3 separate regions of the Homo sapiens genome follow, and regions 1 and 2 are each linked to region 3. Evidence: promoter capture Hi-C in 16 types of primary human blood cells and fetal thymus (Javierre and others, 2016). All regions are on one chromosome and are shown on one strand. The core of a region is centred on a gene start or on the middle of the fragment in contact, and the rest is flanking DNA. Distances in the headings are between cores, read along the strand shown.

Evidence for each region. Contacts are between HindIII fragments. The CHiCAGO score rates a contact against its expected background, and 5 or more counts as called.
Region 1: a contact is called between a fragment that was not itself captured here and the fragment with the promoter of OSBPL8 in region 3, in 2 of 17 cell types (total B cells and total CD8 T cells). The highest score is 6.3, in total B cells.
Region 2: a contact is called between the fragment with the promoter of GLIPR1L1 here and the fragment with the promoter of OSBPL8 in region 3, in 5 of 17 cell types (total B cells, naive CD4 T cells, naive CD8 T cells and 2 more). The highest score is 9.2, in total B cells.

What each region holds. Positions count from the first base shown.
Region 1 is chr12:75,383,532-75,388,424 of GRCh38, forward strand. It overlaps a transcript of CAPS2 not described here. Among named protein-coding and RNA genes, the nearest start is that of GLIPR1L2, 5.1 kb to the right of the region's middle. The HindIII fragment of the contact is 1,274 bases long and covers 722-1,995 here.
Region 2 is chr12:75,333,314-75,338,414 of GRCh38, forward strand. It overlaps GLIPR1L1 (GLIPR1 like 1), which reads left to right and starts at 1,357. Exons shown (of 6, transcript NM_001304964.2): 1 at 1,357-1,589. The coding sequence starts at 1,416. It also overlaps a transcript of CAPS2 not described here. RefSeq lists a silencer at 1,094-1,203. The HindIII fragment of the contact is 15,549 bases long and covers 1-5,101 here.
Region 3 is chr12:76,556,663-76,561,505 of GRCh38, forward strand. OSBPL8 (oxysterol binding protein like 8) reads right to left here and starts at 3,109. Exons shown (of 24, transcript NM_020841.5): 1 at 2,735-3,109. It overlaps LOC105369850 (a long non-coding RNA gene), which reads left to right and starts at 3,240. Exons shown (of 4, transcript NR_188081.1): 1 at 3,240-3,571. RefSeq lists an enhancer at 2,030-2,339 and a silencer at 2,750-2,939. The HindIII fragment of the contact is 3,809 bases long and covers 1-3,507 here.

The sequences.
Region 1 (4,893 bases), core at 109-2,608, 1.2 Mb before region 3:
ATGAGACAAAACTGATAGAATGACAAGAAGAAATAGACGAATCTACTATTATAGTTGGAGACTTCAAAACACCTCTATCTGAAATGTATAGATTCAGCAGGCAGAAAATCAGTAAGGACATAGTTAAACTCAACAACAACATCAATCACCTGGATGTAATAAGACGTCTATACATTATTCGACAATAGCAGAATATATATTCTCGAGCTCATATGAAACATTTACCAAAATAAACTATATTCTGGACCATAAAACACACCTTAACAAATTTAGAATAGAAATCATGTAATGCCTGCTCTCAGACCACTAGTAATTGAACTAGAAATCAGTAACAGAATGATAACCATAAAATTCCAAAATAAGAGATTAAATGGCACACTTCTAAATAACACATGGTCCAAAGAAAAAATCTCAAAAGAAATTTGAAAATATTTTTAAATAAATGAAGATGAAAACAACTTGGCAAAATTTGTGGGATGCAGCAAAGCATTGCTTAGAGGTAAATTTGTAGCATTGAATAAATATATTAGAAAAGAAGAAAGATCTAAAATCGCATATGCTTTCACTGTTAGAAACTAGAAAAAAAAGAGCAAATTAAACCCAAAGTAAGCAGAAGAAATAATAAAAATTTGAACAGAAATCAATAAAATTGAAAACAAAATTAATAGAGAAAATTAATAAAATCAAAAGCTGGTTTTTTAAGGCATAAATAAGATTGATAAGCTTCTAGCCAAGCTAACAGGAAAAGGGAAAAGACATAAATTATCAATATCAGAGATGAAGGAAGGAACATCACTACAGATCTGATAAACATTAAAAGGATAACTGAGCAACACTGTGAACAACTCCACACCCACAAACTTAATAATCTAGATGAACGGGCCACTTCCTTGAAAGACACATCTCTCACAACTCATGCAAGAAGAAATAGACAATCTGAAGAGGCCTATTCCTATTTAAGAAATTTAATTGATAACTAATAACCTTCCAAAACAGAAAGCACCAGGCCCAGATAAATTCACTGGTGAATTCTACCAAAAATTTAAAGAAAAAAGTGATCGATTCTGTATAATGTCTTTCAGAAGATAAAAGCAAACAGAATACTTCTTAACTCATTCTATGAGGCCAGCATTACCCTAATACCAAAATCCTGCAAAAACATTACAAGAAAAAAAATACTACAGACCAACGTCTCTCATGAACATAGATGCAAAATTCCCCAACAAGATACTAAGCAAATTGAATTCAACAACGTATAAAAATAATTATATTACATGATGGAGTGGAATTTATTCCAGATTGCTCTGGTCTAAATATTTTCCCCTCCAAATTCATGTTAAAATTTAATTTCCATTGAGGCAGTATTGAAAGGTGGGGCTTTAAAAAGATTATTGGGTTATGAGGGCTCTGCCCTCATGAATGAACCAATACATTCATAGATTAATGGATTAATAGGATAATAAGTTAATGGATTAATGGGTTATCACAGGAGTGAGACTAAAGGGCTTAGTAAAAAGGGGAAGAGGGACCAGAGCTAGCATGCCCAACCTTCTTGCCATATGATGCCCTGCACTGCTTCAGGACTTTGCAGAGAGTTCTCAACAGCAAGAAGGTATTTCACCAAACGCAGCCCCTCAACCTTATGTTCTCAGCCTCCATAACTGTAAGAAATAAATTATTTTTCTTTATAAATTACCCAGTTTCAAGTATTCTGTTATAAGCATCAGAAAATGAACTAAGACATAGGTATACAAGCCTGGTTCAATTTGCAAATCAACTAATGTAATAAATCACATCAATAGGCTAAAGAAGAAAAATCATATGATTATATCCATAGATGCAGGAAGAGCACTGGACAAAATCCAGTATGAACTCATAATAAAAATTCTCAATAAACTAGGAATAGTAGGAAACTTCCCTGAGATATTGATAAAGATATCAATATTTACAAAAAAAAGCTATAGCTAACTGCATACTTAATGATGAGAAACAGGAAGCTTTCTCACTAAGATCAGGAACAAGGCACAGATGCCCCTCTCATCACTGCTCTTCAACTTCATACTGGAAATCCTTGCTAATACAATAAGACAAGAAAATAAAAGGTTTATAGATTGAGAAGAAATAAAAATGTCTTTGTTTGCCGATGACATAATTATTTATGTACAAAATCCAAAGAATCAACAAACTCCTGAAACTAATCAATGATTTTAGCAAGGTTGCAGGATACGAGGTTAATATAGAAAAGTCAGTTACTTTAAATTGCTTTCCTATATACTAGCCATGAACAAGTAGAATTTAAAATTGGAAACATAATAGCGTTTAGCACACACAAACAAATACTTAGTCATAAATCTAACAAAATATTTACAAGATCTGTATGAGGAACACTACAAAAGTATGATAAAATAAATCAAAGAACTGAATAAATGAAGAAATATTCCTTGTTCATAAATAGAATGAAGAAGGAATTTGTTCATTCTATTTCCTTGTTCATAAATATTCCTTGTTCATAATAGAATGAACAAGGAATTTGTTAGGATATCAGTAATTCCCAATTTGATCTATTGATTTAATGTAACCCCAATCAAAATTTCAGCAAGTTAATTTGTGGAGACTGACAAAATTATTCTAAAGTTTATATGAAGAGGCAAAAAAACCCTGAACAGCCAATACATTGGATGAGAAGAACAAGGTTGCAGGACTAACACTACGTGACATTAAGACTTACTATAAGGGTACGTGTCTCAGTCTGTTTTGTGCTGCTATCACAGAATATCTGATATTTGGTAATTTATTTTAAAAAAAGATCAATTTCTTACAGTTCTGGAGGCTAGAAAGTCCAAGGTTGAGGAGCTTGCATCTGGTGAGGGCCTGCTGGCTGTGTCATCTGATGGCAGGAGTTCACAGAGGAAGAGAGTGCATGCACATGTGCAAAAGAAGGGAGCTGAACTCACTCTTTTATCAGGAACTCACTCCCTCAATATTTTACCAATCCTGTGATAATGGCATTAATACAATTCATGAGGACAGGGCTCTCATGACCCAATCACCTCTTAAAGATCCCACCCCTCAATGCTGTTGTATTGGGGATTAATTTTCCAGCATATGAATTTAGGGGGACATATTCAAACAATAGCAAAAATACAATAATTTAAAAGGTATAGTATTGGTGAAAGTAGAAATAAATCCATGGAACAGAATAGAGAGCTGAGAAATAGAACAGCATAAATAAAGTCAACTGATCTTTGACAAAGGAGCAAAGGCAATATAATGGAGAAATGTAGTCTTTTCAACAAATGGTTCTGGAACAACTGAACGTCCATATACAAGAAAAAAAAACCAGTCTAAGCACAAACTTTATACCCTTCACAAAAATTAATCAAAATGGATCACAGACCTAAATGTAAATACAAAAGTATAAACTCCCAGAAGGTTATATAAGAGAAAATCTAGATGATCTTTAATTTGGCAATAACCTTTTAGATACAACACAAAAGGTATGATTTATGAAAGAACAAATCGATAAGCTGGGTGCCATTAAAACTAAAAATTTCTACTCAGCAAAAGACATTCTCAAGAGAATGAAAAAACAAGCCATGGCCTGGGAGAAAAATACTTACAGAAGATATATGCAATAAAAACTATTACGCACAATATGCAAAGACTCTTTAAACTCAACAATCGAAAAACAAACAGTTTAATTTAAAAATGGGTCAAAAACCTTAATGGACACCTCACCAAAGAAGACATACAGTACTCAAATAAGCATATGAAAAGGTGCATCATATGTCACCAGGAAAACGCACATTAAAATACCAATGAAATACCACTACACACCTTTTAGAATGGCCAAAATCCAGAACACTGGCAACACCAAATGCTGACAAGGATGTGGAGGAACATGAGCTCTCATTCACTGCTGGTGGGAATGCAAAATGGCACAGCCACTTTGGAACATAGTTTAGCAGTTTCTTAAAAAACTGAACATTATGCTTACTGCCATAGTCTGTTTAATGTTGCTCATAAGAAAATACCTGAAACTGAGTAAGTTATAAAGAAAAGGAATTGACTTCTTAGAATTATGGAGGCTGAGAATTTCAAAGTCAAGGGGCCATATCTGGTGTGGCCCTTCTTGCTACTGGGGACTCTGCAGAATCCCAAGGCAGCACAGAGTATCACATGGTAAAGGGGCTAAACTAATCCATTAACCCATTAATCTACGAATGGATCAATACATTCATGAGGACAGACCCAATCACTTCTTAAAGGCTCCACCTTTCAATACTGTTACATTGGGGATTAAGTTTCAACATGAATTTTGAAAGGGACAAATATCCAAACAATAGCATTTACTATAACATATAGTTATGATCCAGCAATCATGCTCATGGTATTTATCCAAAGGAGTTGAAAACTTATGTCTACACAGAAACCTGCACAAAGATGTTTATAACAACTGTATTCACATTTGCAAATTGATATGGTTTGGCTCTGTGTCCCCACCCAAATCTTACCCTGAATTGTAATAATCCCCACGTGTCATGGGAGAGACTAGGTGAGAGGTAACTGAATCATGGGGGCAGGTTTTTCCCGTGCTGTTCTCATGGTAATGATTATGTCTCATGAGATCTGATGGTTTTATAAAGAGTAGTTCCCCTGCACATGGTCTCTTGGCTGCCACCATGTAAGATGTCCCTTTGCTCCTCCTTCGTCTTCCACTATGATTGCGAGGGCTCCCAGCCATGTGGAACTGTGAGTTCATCAAACCTCTTTCCTTTATAAATTACCCAGTCTTGGGTCTGTCTTTATTAGTGGCATGAGAATAGAATAATACACCAATACCTAGAATCAGCCAACATGTCCTTCAGTAGCTACTGGAATAAAGAAATGTTG
Region 2 (5,101 bases), core at 107-2,606, 1.2 Mb before region 3:
GTATGTGTGTATATGTATGTGTGTATATGCCTATAGATATCTTTATATCCAGGAAGAGACATATATATATAGACACATGTAGATGTATATAACTGTATTGATTTATCTATCTGTATACCTACACACACACATATACACACACACACACACGTATATATGTTCATGTCTTTGGGTGTGGGATATCAGAAGCTCAGTTTGGACTATGTATGTGATATGAAAGTAGTATATACAGCAATTCTCCATTAGCTGGTAGTAGACTAGAAATATATTATCTATTGCCCAGTAGAATTTCCATTAGGATCCTTGCATTTTTCGTTTTCTTATAATCTAATTTTCTGCTTTTTATTTTTAAAAAGATAGTAGCTGCATCAAAGTAGTTTGTTTTGGTTTTTGTTTTTTGTGTCAAGGTTGACTATGGCGGATCATTCAGCAGATGTAAGTACGTGTTCACTTGAATTAAACAGCATTGTAAACAACTTCAAATTACTAAGTAAAGGTATTTATTTGAAACATAGAAATACTAAAAAAAATTAATGTCATGGGGAAAAATGCTGGTTTATTACAGAATATCAATATAACTGATGTAATGAATTTAAAACATTAAGCCAAATGACGTTGATTTATATTGCATTGCAGGTAAAATAGACAATCAAATGTACTCTGTCCATCCCAGTCTCAGTGTATCAATTAAAGCAACTCTTGGAGTCTACCAGTCACCATACAGTGGCTCTGTTCCAAACTATCAAAAAGGGAAGATTTTGTCAAGAGGAACTACTTGGCTACATTTTCCAAGCATCTATTGTTATCTATCTAAGCATTCGGTCTCTTCAGACGAAAAAACAGAAGGAAATTATTAAATGTTTGACAAGTTGATAATTTAGGATCACTGTATGTCACTGTATAAGAATTGCCTATTCTTACTCTATTCCCAATCTCTGAGGGAAGTGGCAATATGATTCTAGATTATTTAGAACAATAAAAATCTATACACGGAAGCTGCGTCTAAGAAACGAATATATAGTGCTTTGCACTCGACTGGCCCATTGTCAGCATCCCGCACTTGTTCTTTACCTAACTTGTGTGGCTTGCATATTGCAATCTGTATTACAATCCAGACGCGCTCTGCAGATTACAGATTGGATCCACAGAAAGCAGTTTGGATGGTTGAAATTCCCTCCACCAGAGGGCGACTCAGAGCTTTCCCCTGTAGCTCAGAGCTTTGTGGAAGGGGAACCCTGCTGCCTGTTCTTCCCCACAGCGACACTGACAAGTTGATCCAGCCGCGCTGGGCTCGAGCCTGTGCGGCAGGATGGAGCCAAGGGAGAGCGTGGTGCGGGGGCGTGGGGAAATCGGGTTGCCCCAGCCGTTACTGGTCCGCGCAGTCAGGGCATCCTCCGCATCCTCCACATCCTTCCATGGCTCTGAAGAATAAATTCAGTTGTTTATGGATCTTGGGTCTGTGTTTGGTAGCCACTACATCTTCCAAAATCCCATCCATCACTGACCCACACTTTATAGACAACTGCATAGAAGCCCACAACGAATGGCGTGGCAAAGTCAACCCTCCCGCGGCCGACATGAAATACATGGTGAGAAAGAACCAGGGCTGGGCTCTTAAATCCCTGACTCATCCTGAGGTATCTGGGTGATAAATTTCACGGACTTAACTTGTACTAATTCAATCCGGACTTTACATATATGCAGTTAAAAAGAAAAAAATTCACACCTTGGTTGGGCTGTCTCCTCCAGAGTCATAGGAGTGAACAAGAAAGGAAGACTTGAAGCTGTTCCTTGCCTCTTGCGGGGAAGGTGGGGATGCTGGAGCAGTGTTTGGAAGTTGCTTTGTTGCACCACTAAAGTTATAAGTACTGAACACAGGATTATTTTGTTTTCTTTCTTCCATTTTTTAGCTAGCAATTTCCACCCCCCACAACCAAGATACAAGATACCAAAGAAATAGCCCAGGAATGGAGATTCTCTTGTTCTCTTACTTATTTTTATATCATATGAATCCAAGATCAAAACAACACTTCATGTGTAGTATTATTTGAAAAAAATACAGTACTCTATTGAAGAATAAGCATAAAAAGCATTGGATTATTAAATAATCCATAGAATTTACAAAATTTTAAATACTTGACTATGAATTGTATGATTGGAAATTTCCCTTGCATTGTAACTTTTTCTTGTTTATAAATGCATCACTATGAGCATAAACGTTGATAGTATTAGTCTATTTTATGTGCTATGCAGATGTAGATACAGTATAACTCATATCTATTCCAGCTTTCTTCTTTTCTATCCAGTGGAAAACAAAAGTAATTATAAAATCACAACTCAGGCATTAAAATAAGTTCAAAACTGTACTAGTCTACTGTATAAGAAAATTATATTTTGATGGAGAAAGATTCAAATATGTATCAGAAATGAAACAAGAATAAACTAATCTCTTTAATGCAGAATTGTTAAGATATTTTAATATATAATGTTTACCAGCTTGGGGTTGTCCAAGGCATAAATTAACTAGAAATAAATCTTCAACGGAATTCAGAAATACTAATATTAGTATTAATATGGTTGATGCCTTTAGAGTTTTATTGTAAATGTATGATAAAAAAGAGTAAATGTGGGGTTAAATATAATAAATGTTCTTTATATTTCTTTTGTACTCATTGACTATTTAAAGCAAAATATGATAACAATGAATTGTGGAGTTTATAATAATGTAGAAACTAAACACATTATAACCAATGCATAAAAAATGAAGTGAAGTGTCAATAGAATTATTCTGCTGAAAGTTCCTTATATTGTTAAGAATCACAATAATATTTCTGGATGGACCGTGAGAAGTTAAGAATGCATATTTTAATATCTAGGATAACCATTAAAAATATACAAAGAAGTAGAGCTAAAAATCCAGTAAGTAGAATACTAAAGTCCTTGATTAATTTTTGGAAAACAGGAACAAGGAACAAAAGAACAAAGAGGGAATCATTTAAAAATAGCAAATGGTAGACTAAAACTTAACCATGTTAAAATTACATTAAATGCAAATGACTACTACATACTTTAATTAAAAATAAAGATTATCAGATTGGATTAATGCTTTTGTAACAGAAACATATCACAAATAGATTAAAGTAAAAAGATGGAAAAAATACATTATGCAAACTCTAAAATTAAGATAGAATAGCTATATTTATGGCTACTGAAGTAGATTTTAAGACAAGGAGAACTACCAGAAATAAAAGGGGACATTTAGGAAAATAAAAGGGCTAATTCAACAAAAGACACAGCAATCTTCAATACAAATAAATGTAATAATATATTTTAATACACAAAAATTGGCAAAAGTAAAGGGAGAAAGAGACAAAACAGTCATAGAGATTTTAATCTTAGTGAGTAAGAGAACAAGTAGGTAAAAATCAGTAAAAATAAAAAAGATTTGAACATCAAACAATTTTACCTAATTGACATTAAACAATTTATACCACACTGCAAAATACAAATTTTTATCAAGTATTCATTACATTCATCAATATAAACAATATGCTGAACCATAAAACAAGTCTCAATAAATTAACAGTATTTGAAATTTTGTCCTATATCTTCTGAAAAAAAAGTCTTAAACCAGAAATAAAGTGTGCAAAATCTCCCAAAATGTGAAATCAAGCAGCACATATCTAAATGGTCCATAAGTTAAAGAATAAATAATAATAGAGATTACTATAATTTAGATTTGAATGTTAATGGAAACACAGCATATCAAAATTTGTGGGATATAGCAAAAGAAGTGTTTGGAAGCATACGTATAGATTTAAATGAATATTTTAGGAAAGAAGAATGGTTAAAAATCAAGACCTATTCTTTCAACTCAAGAAGGTAGGAAACAAGTTTAAATTAAGCACAAGAAAATTTTTAAAAAACTAAAGATGATCATAATTTGATGAAATTGAAAGTAAAAGTATGAGGACTAAAATCAATAATATCAAAAGTTGGTTTAAAACTATATATTAATAAAATTGATAAACCAGTAGTAAAAAAAAGATTAATGAAGAAAGACACAACTCAAAAATCAATTTTAGGAATGGAAAATCACTTTTAAAAAACTCCACACATTAAATGGATAGATAGAGAATATTTTGAACAAATTTATACTAATAAATTTTACAACATAAAGAAAATAAATGGACAAATGTCTTGAAAATCAGCATTTTATAAAATTGACACAATATTTTGATATGTTGTTTATTGAATGATTACTAGTGAATAAGTGCATAAAATGCACTAGTTTTAATGTACAATTTTTTTTACATATGTATACGTCAGTGAAACTACCTACCTCAAGATTGGAATTTTTATTTCATATATGCGTGCCATGTTATTTATCACATAAAGTCTCATAAATATTACATTCCGTACTATGTGTCTTATAAAGTAACATTAAATCCTTGAACTTTGCCTAATAAAAGTATTGCTTATTTTTTTATTTCTTTGATTTCTATTATTATTTTTCGACTATTGTCTTCTTTGTCTTGTACAAATGAAAGAATCCGGGGTTAGAGATTGACTTTGAACCCAATATAAATCTTTTAACAGGGATATTTAACCAATGTATGAATGAGATCATTCATCTGCATCTTCATCAATCTAAATAGTCTTATGCCATTACATAAATTAAATACGTAATTTAAAATATTCTTAACAGAAAATTCAGGTGAATTCTAAGAGAAAAGCAACACCAATCTTATACAAATCTCTTTGTGAAACTGAAAGAGAAAACCTTTTGGAACTTTATGAGTCAACTTTTACCCTGACACCAAACCAGAAAAAACATTACAGGTTAGAAAATTATAGCTCAATATAGATGCAAAAAATCTTCAACAAAATTATAATCAATTGAATCCAGCAACACATATAAAGAATATTATATCATGGGATTTATCTCAGGAATAAAAAGTTGAATTAGGACTTGAAAATTAATCAACATAATCAGGAACAAAACTGGAAACACCATTAACAGAAAACTCCCCAGAAAATGAAAAATCTGTGAGAAATCTGACTTGGATTGGGGGAATTTAATTGCTGTTTACAGTCTGCC
Region 3 (4,843 bases), core at 1,859-4,358:
TGTTTTTTTGGTGTTTTTTGAGACTGAGTCTTGCTCTATCGCCCAGGCTGGAGTGCAATGGCATGATCTTGGCTCGTTGCAATCTCTGTCTCCTGGGTTCATGCGATTCTCCTGCCTCAGCCTCCCAAGTAGCTGGGATTACAGGCACACACTGCCACGCCCAGCTAATTTTTTTGTATTTTTAGTAGAGACGGGGTTTCACCATGTTGGCCAGGCGGGTCTTGAACTTCTGACCTCATGATCTGCCCACCTCAGCCTCCCAAAGTGCTAGCATTACAGGCGTGAGCCACCGGGCCTGGCCTCTCAAAGGCTTTTTTATTCAAGTTGTGTTTCTGTCTTATTTGCAGGTCATTATTTGTAAGATTAAGGCAGGACCTATGTCCTCTTTGAATTGCCTGATGCTCCAAGAACATTGCTATAAATGTTTTTAACTTTCAATATAATACAAACATTACAACATGACATTTCAGGCATTGTTATTAGGATAATATTAGGATAAAAGTTTTCCAAATTAATATTAGAAAACTAGATCTATGTACTGTATCAATTCTTTGTCTTTAATGCCTTAATTCAAGTAATCTACTTTTGAAGGATTATTTACAAACCAAAGCCAAGTTGAAATGTACTAACACTGGTTAAAATTCTGCAATTCATACTTTTAAACAAAAGATCCGCCAGACACAGTGGCTCATGACTGTAATCCCAGCACTTTGGGAGGCTGAGGCGGGCGGATCTTGAGGCCAGGAGTTGGAGACCAGCCTGGCCAACATGGTGAAACCCCATCTCTAATAAAAATACAAAAATTAGCCTGGCATGGTGGCACGCACCTGTAATCCCAGCTACTCAGGAGGCTGAAGCATAAGAATCTCTTGAACCCAGGTGGCAGAAGCTGCAGTGAGCCAAGTTGCACCACTGCACTCCAGCCTGGGATACAGAGTGAGACAGTCTTAAAAAAAAAAAAAAAAAAAATCCTTTTGTAATGCATATTTTACAAATTCATAATTTCATCATTTTTCTTAAAGCAAACTAAAACATAAATTCATTATACACAATTGTAAATTTATCCCCAAAGTGTTTTCTAAGGCTTCCAATTTTTAAATGAACCAAGGAACTGAATATTGACAAATGTATAAGTACCCTGAATGTGTTATAAAAAACATATTTGACTGTCTTTAAAATGCAGTAACATTCTAAGGAAAATACAGTAGCATCTTTCCACAGATCAGAGATTCAATAACTATTATGATTCAATCAAAGAGAAATAAACCATGGCCATTTTTAATTAAACAGGCATTTCTAAGCACCTGTGTACACGGTATTGCTGTTCAAACGGTTGACATGGAATGTGACCGCAATAACTTGATGTCCATAATTAAAGACCCAAAAGGTAGCTTAAGTTTCATCTATTTCCTTTCTCAGCCCTTTGAGCAGGTATATTATAGTCACTCCATACACGGTTAATATTAAAAAAAAATAAAAGTAACAAACATTTGAAATTAGTTGTACTTTTATAGAGAACAGTTTTAAATTGCATGGCCTTACTTTTCCTATTCCAACCTATTTTATAAAACTAGCATGATCTTAATAATTTCACTGCAAAACAGGTTCTAGCAAGCATAGAAACTGATCATAGCCTCTCAGCAAAATCAAGTTTAGATGAAACTCTAGGAAATTAGCAAAATTTAACAATCAATTCACCCACGATTCTCCACAATTCTTGCTCTCTCTAGATACGAAGGGAGGCAAAAACTGTTTTAAAGGATTATTTCAAAAGCAGCACTAATTTTGGGAAAAACTTAACTGCCATGCAGGAGACACTGTATTACTACTCAGACGTCATTTAAGTCTTCTAGCAGCAGAAAGGCAAAAACATCATTAAATTTTTTATTTAATGCATATATACTTACATTATCAGTTAAAGTTTACCCATCTGTTTACGTTGTCCAAGTTACCTATTATTTCAGAAAGCATTTAAATAAAATGAAATTAGGTTACGTTCTGCAACGCAGATGTGTCTCATAAAGAAGAGTGTTAAATGACTTTTGTGAATGGAAAATCTGCATATACTGTTGCTTCGCCTCAGCCAGTCTTGAGTGGGTGGTTCAATGAACCTAAAGCATGCTGCCTGTGAAGCTCCTTGGAACCTGATTCCACTCTTGAGAGAGGGCTTAGAAACAAACATTAAATTTAAAAGCACAGCAAAGGCTTGGCTTTCCTCCTACGTTACAAGAAGGCCGGGAGAACTGAGGCTTAGAGGAACAACACCGTGTCGCTTGGCTCTGCAAAGGCGGGTGCGGTCTGCGGTGCGCGGCACAGCCTTCTCTGGGGCTGTCACAGGAAAGAAGGAGCCTCGCCTTAACCGCACCGAGCGACAAAGCGCCAGCTCTCCTGGGCGCGGGGGCTCCCAACGAGGCCCATGCCATCAACCTATCAAACTTCAGGAGGGACAGACACCCGGGGCGGTCGAAATGCTCCAACAGCCTCCCACCCCCGTTCCCCTGCCGCGGCTTTTGTAAGGCTGCAGATGCACCTACTGTGGGCCCCTAAACACTCCACCCTGCCAGCCTTTCCAATCCCCCTACTCCAAAAGGGAACAAAGGAGCCAAAGAACTCCTCGGCGGGGGTGGCCAGGAGTCCCCGACAGCCCGAGCTCAGAACGTGGCAATAAGGGTGCGCAGTCGCCCTGAGGGGTGCGAACCCAGCACCCCAACCTCAGGAATGGAGCAACACTCACCCGTGCGGAGCTCCCAGGGAGGCGGGACGCAAGGAGCCGGTTCCTCCGAGGTCGCCGCGGCGCCGGGGTCCGAGGCCCCGTAAGCGTCTAGTCAGACCCCAACTTCTCTCGGCCGCTGTCGTCGGCGGCAGCTGGGGCGCGAGCCTGGACGAAGGGCGCTGCCCAGCGGCCGCGGAGGCACTGCCGGCTCAGCCCCCGAGCGGGGCGGGAACTTTCGGCCCCGAGGTCCACCAGCCCGGGCGGACCCCCACCTTCCCTCAGTCGGCTTGCTACCGGCAGCGGCTACTGCGGCGTCCAAAGCTAACACTACAGCCGCCGCCTGGCCAGGAGCGCGTCGCGGCCTAATGTTGTCATCCGCCGCGTCGCCGCCTTTCTGGGCACCCAGAACCGCGAAGATCCTTCACATTCTAGTGCCCTCCCCCTGCCCCGCCCGCCCCCCGGATCACGGGCTTCGGCCACGCCCTCTTCCCGTCACGTGACGGTGCGCGGAGGCGGTGGTGGAGTTGCTTCCCCTGCTAGGCGGGCTCGAACCGGGCGGGAGTCACTGTCCACCTTGCTTCGCCAGGGTGTTATCGCCAGCCAGTCCCCTTCCGCATGCCCAAGGGCAGCCTCAGGAAGCGAGCCCACCACCGTCGGCCCAGCGCCTGTTGATCGGCCAGGCCTTCTGGGCCGGTCATACTGGGCCCTTCCTAACCTGAGGAGATTGCACAGTAGGGCTCCCTGGTCTGGTCAGGGCTCAGTTAGGACCCCTCTCCAGCCTTAGGCTTGGTGAAAGCTTTAGCGAAACAGAAAAAAGAACGCATCGTGGTGTAGAGTGTATGGCCTAAGAAGCATTCGGTAACTAAACTACTTGTTCCTATTTCTAGTGGCACATTAACCGTGGCATTTAATTTACTGCTTTCCTCATTAGAGGTTTTTTTTTTTTTGAGGAAACGGTGTATTTCAATCATGCTGGGATGAAAACAGCCTAGCAAACTTATTTTTGTTCCTTGTTATGTTCAGGATCCTGCTGCCAGTTTTACAGTCATTAAGTTTTACAGTGTGTTAGGTTGGTGACAGTTTAAACGGGTACGCAGGAATTTGACAGTTTGTTCCATTTTTTAAAATAAAGCCTAATTCTTGATTTTTTTTCTAATGCCTTAATTTTTTTTTCCTAATTCCTTAACTCTAGGACTTAACCTTTTGCTTTCTTTTTTAGCCATGATCCGAAGAACCCTCTAGCCGCCTAATGAAATCCTAACTATACAGAAGTAAGGGAGGTAGAATAAAGATCATACTCAAACCCTGATCACAATGAAGGCAAATGAGAAAGCTTTCTGTAATAATTAAATTGGGGTCATAACTCATTTTCCCTTGTAGCCCAGAACTAAGGATTTTTTTCTTAAGCTATTCTCATCTCATTACATTTTCTTAACAAGAAATCAGAAGGCATTCTGATAAGCTGGATACATTGAAATGAATAAGCAATAGAGTTTGGCCTATATAATTATTATTAATATATTTCATAGCAGCTCTAAAAAAATCATAGACTTACATTGTTTTATGTTACCCAAGAAAGAAAACAAAGGCTGCCAATGAAACTATGCCATACCGCTGATATGTAAGGCACCTTTAAGCCACATCTTTTTCCTTTTTTTTTTGAGACAGGGTCTCACTCTGTCTCCCAGACTGGAGTGCAGAGGCGCAATCTCGGCCCACTGCAATTTCCGCCTCCCGGTTCAAGCGATTCTCCTCCCTTAGCCTCCCAAGGAGCTGAGATTACAGGCATGCGCCACCATGCCCAGCTAATTTTTGTATTTTTAGTAGAGAGGAGGTTTCACCATTTTGGCAAGGCTGGTGTTGAACTCGTGACCTCAAATGATTCACCCGCCTCGACCTCCCAAAATGCTGGGATTACAGGCATGAGCCACCGCGCCCGGCCTGAGACACATCTTGAATTCAGAGATGTAAACATGTCAGAAACAACGAGTCTTAGAATCTCTGAGATATTGTCATGAACTGGGAAACAACGAGTCTTAGAATCTCTGAGATATTGTCATGAACTGGGAAACAACGAGTCTTAGAATCTCTGAGATATTGTCATGAACTGGTGTTCCAAAGAGGAAAAGA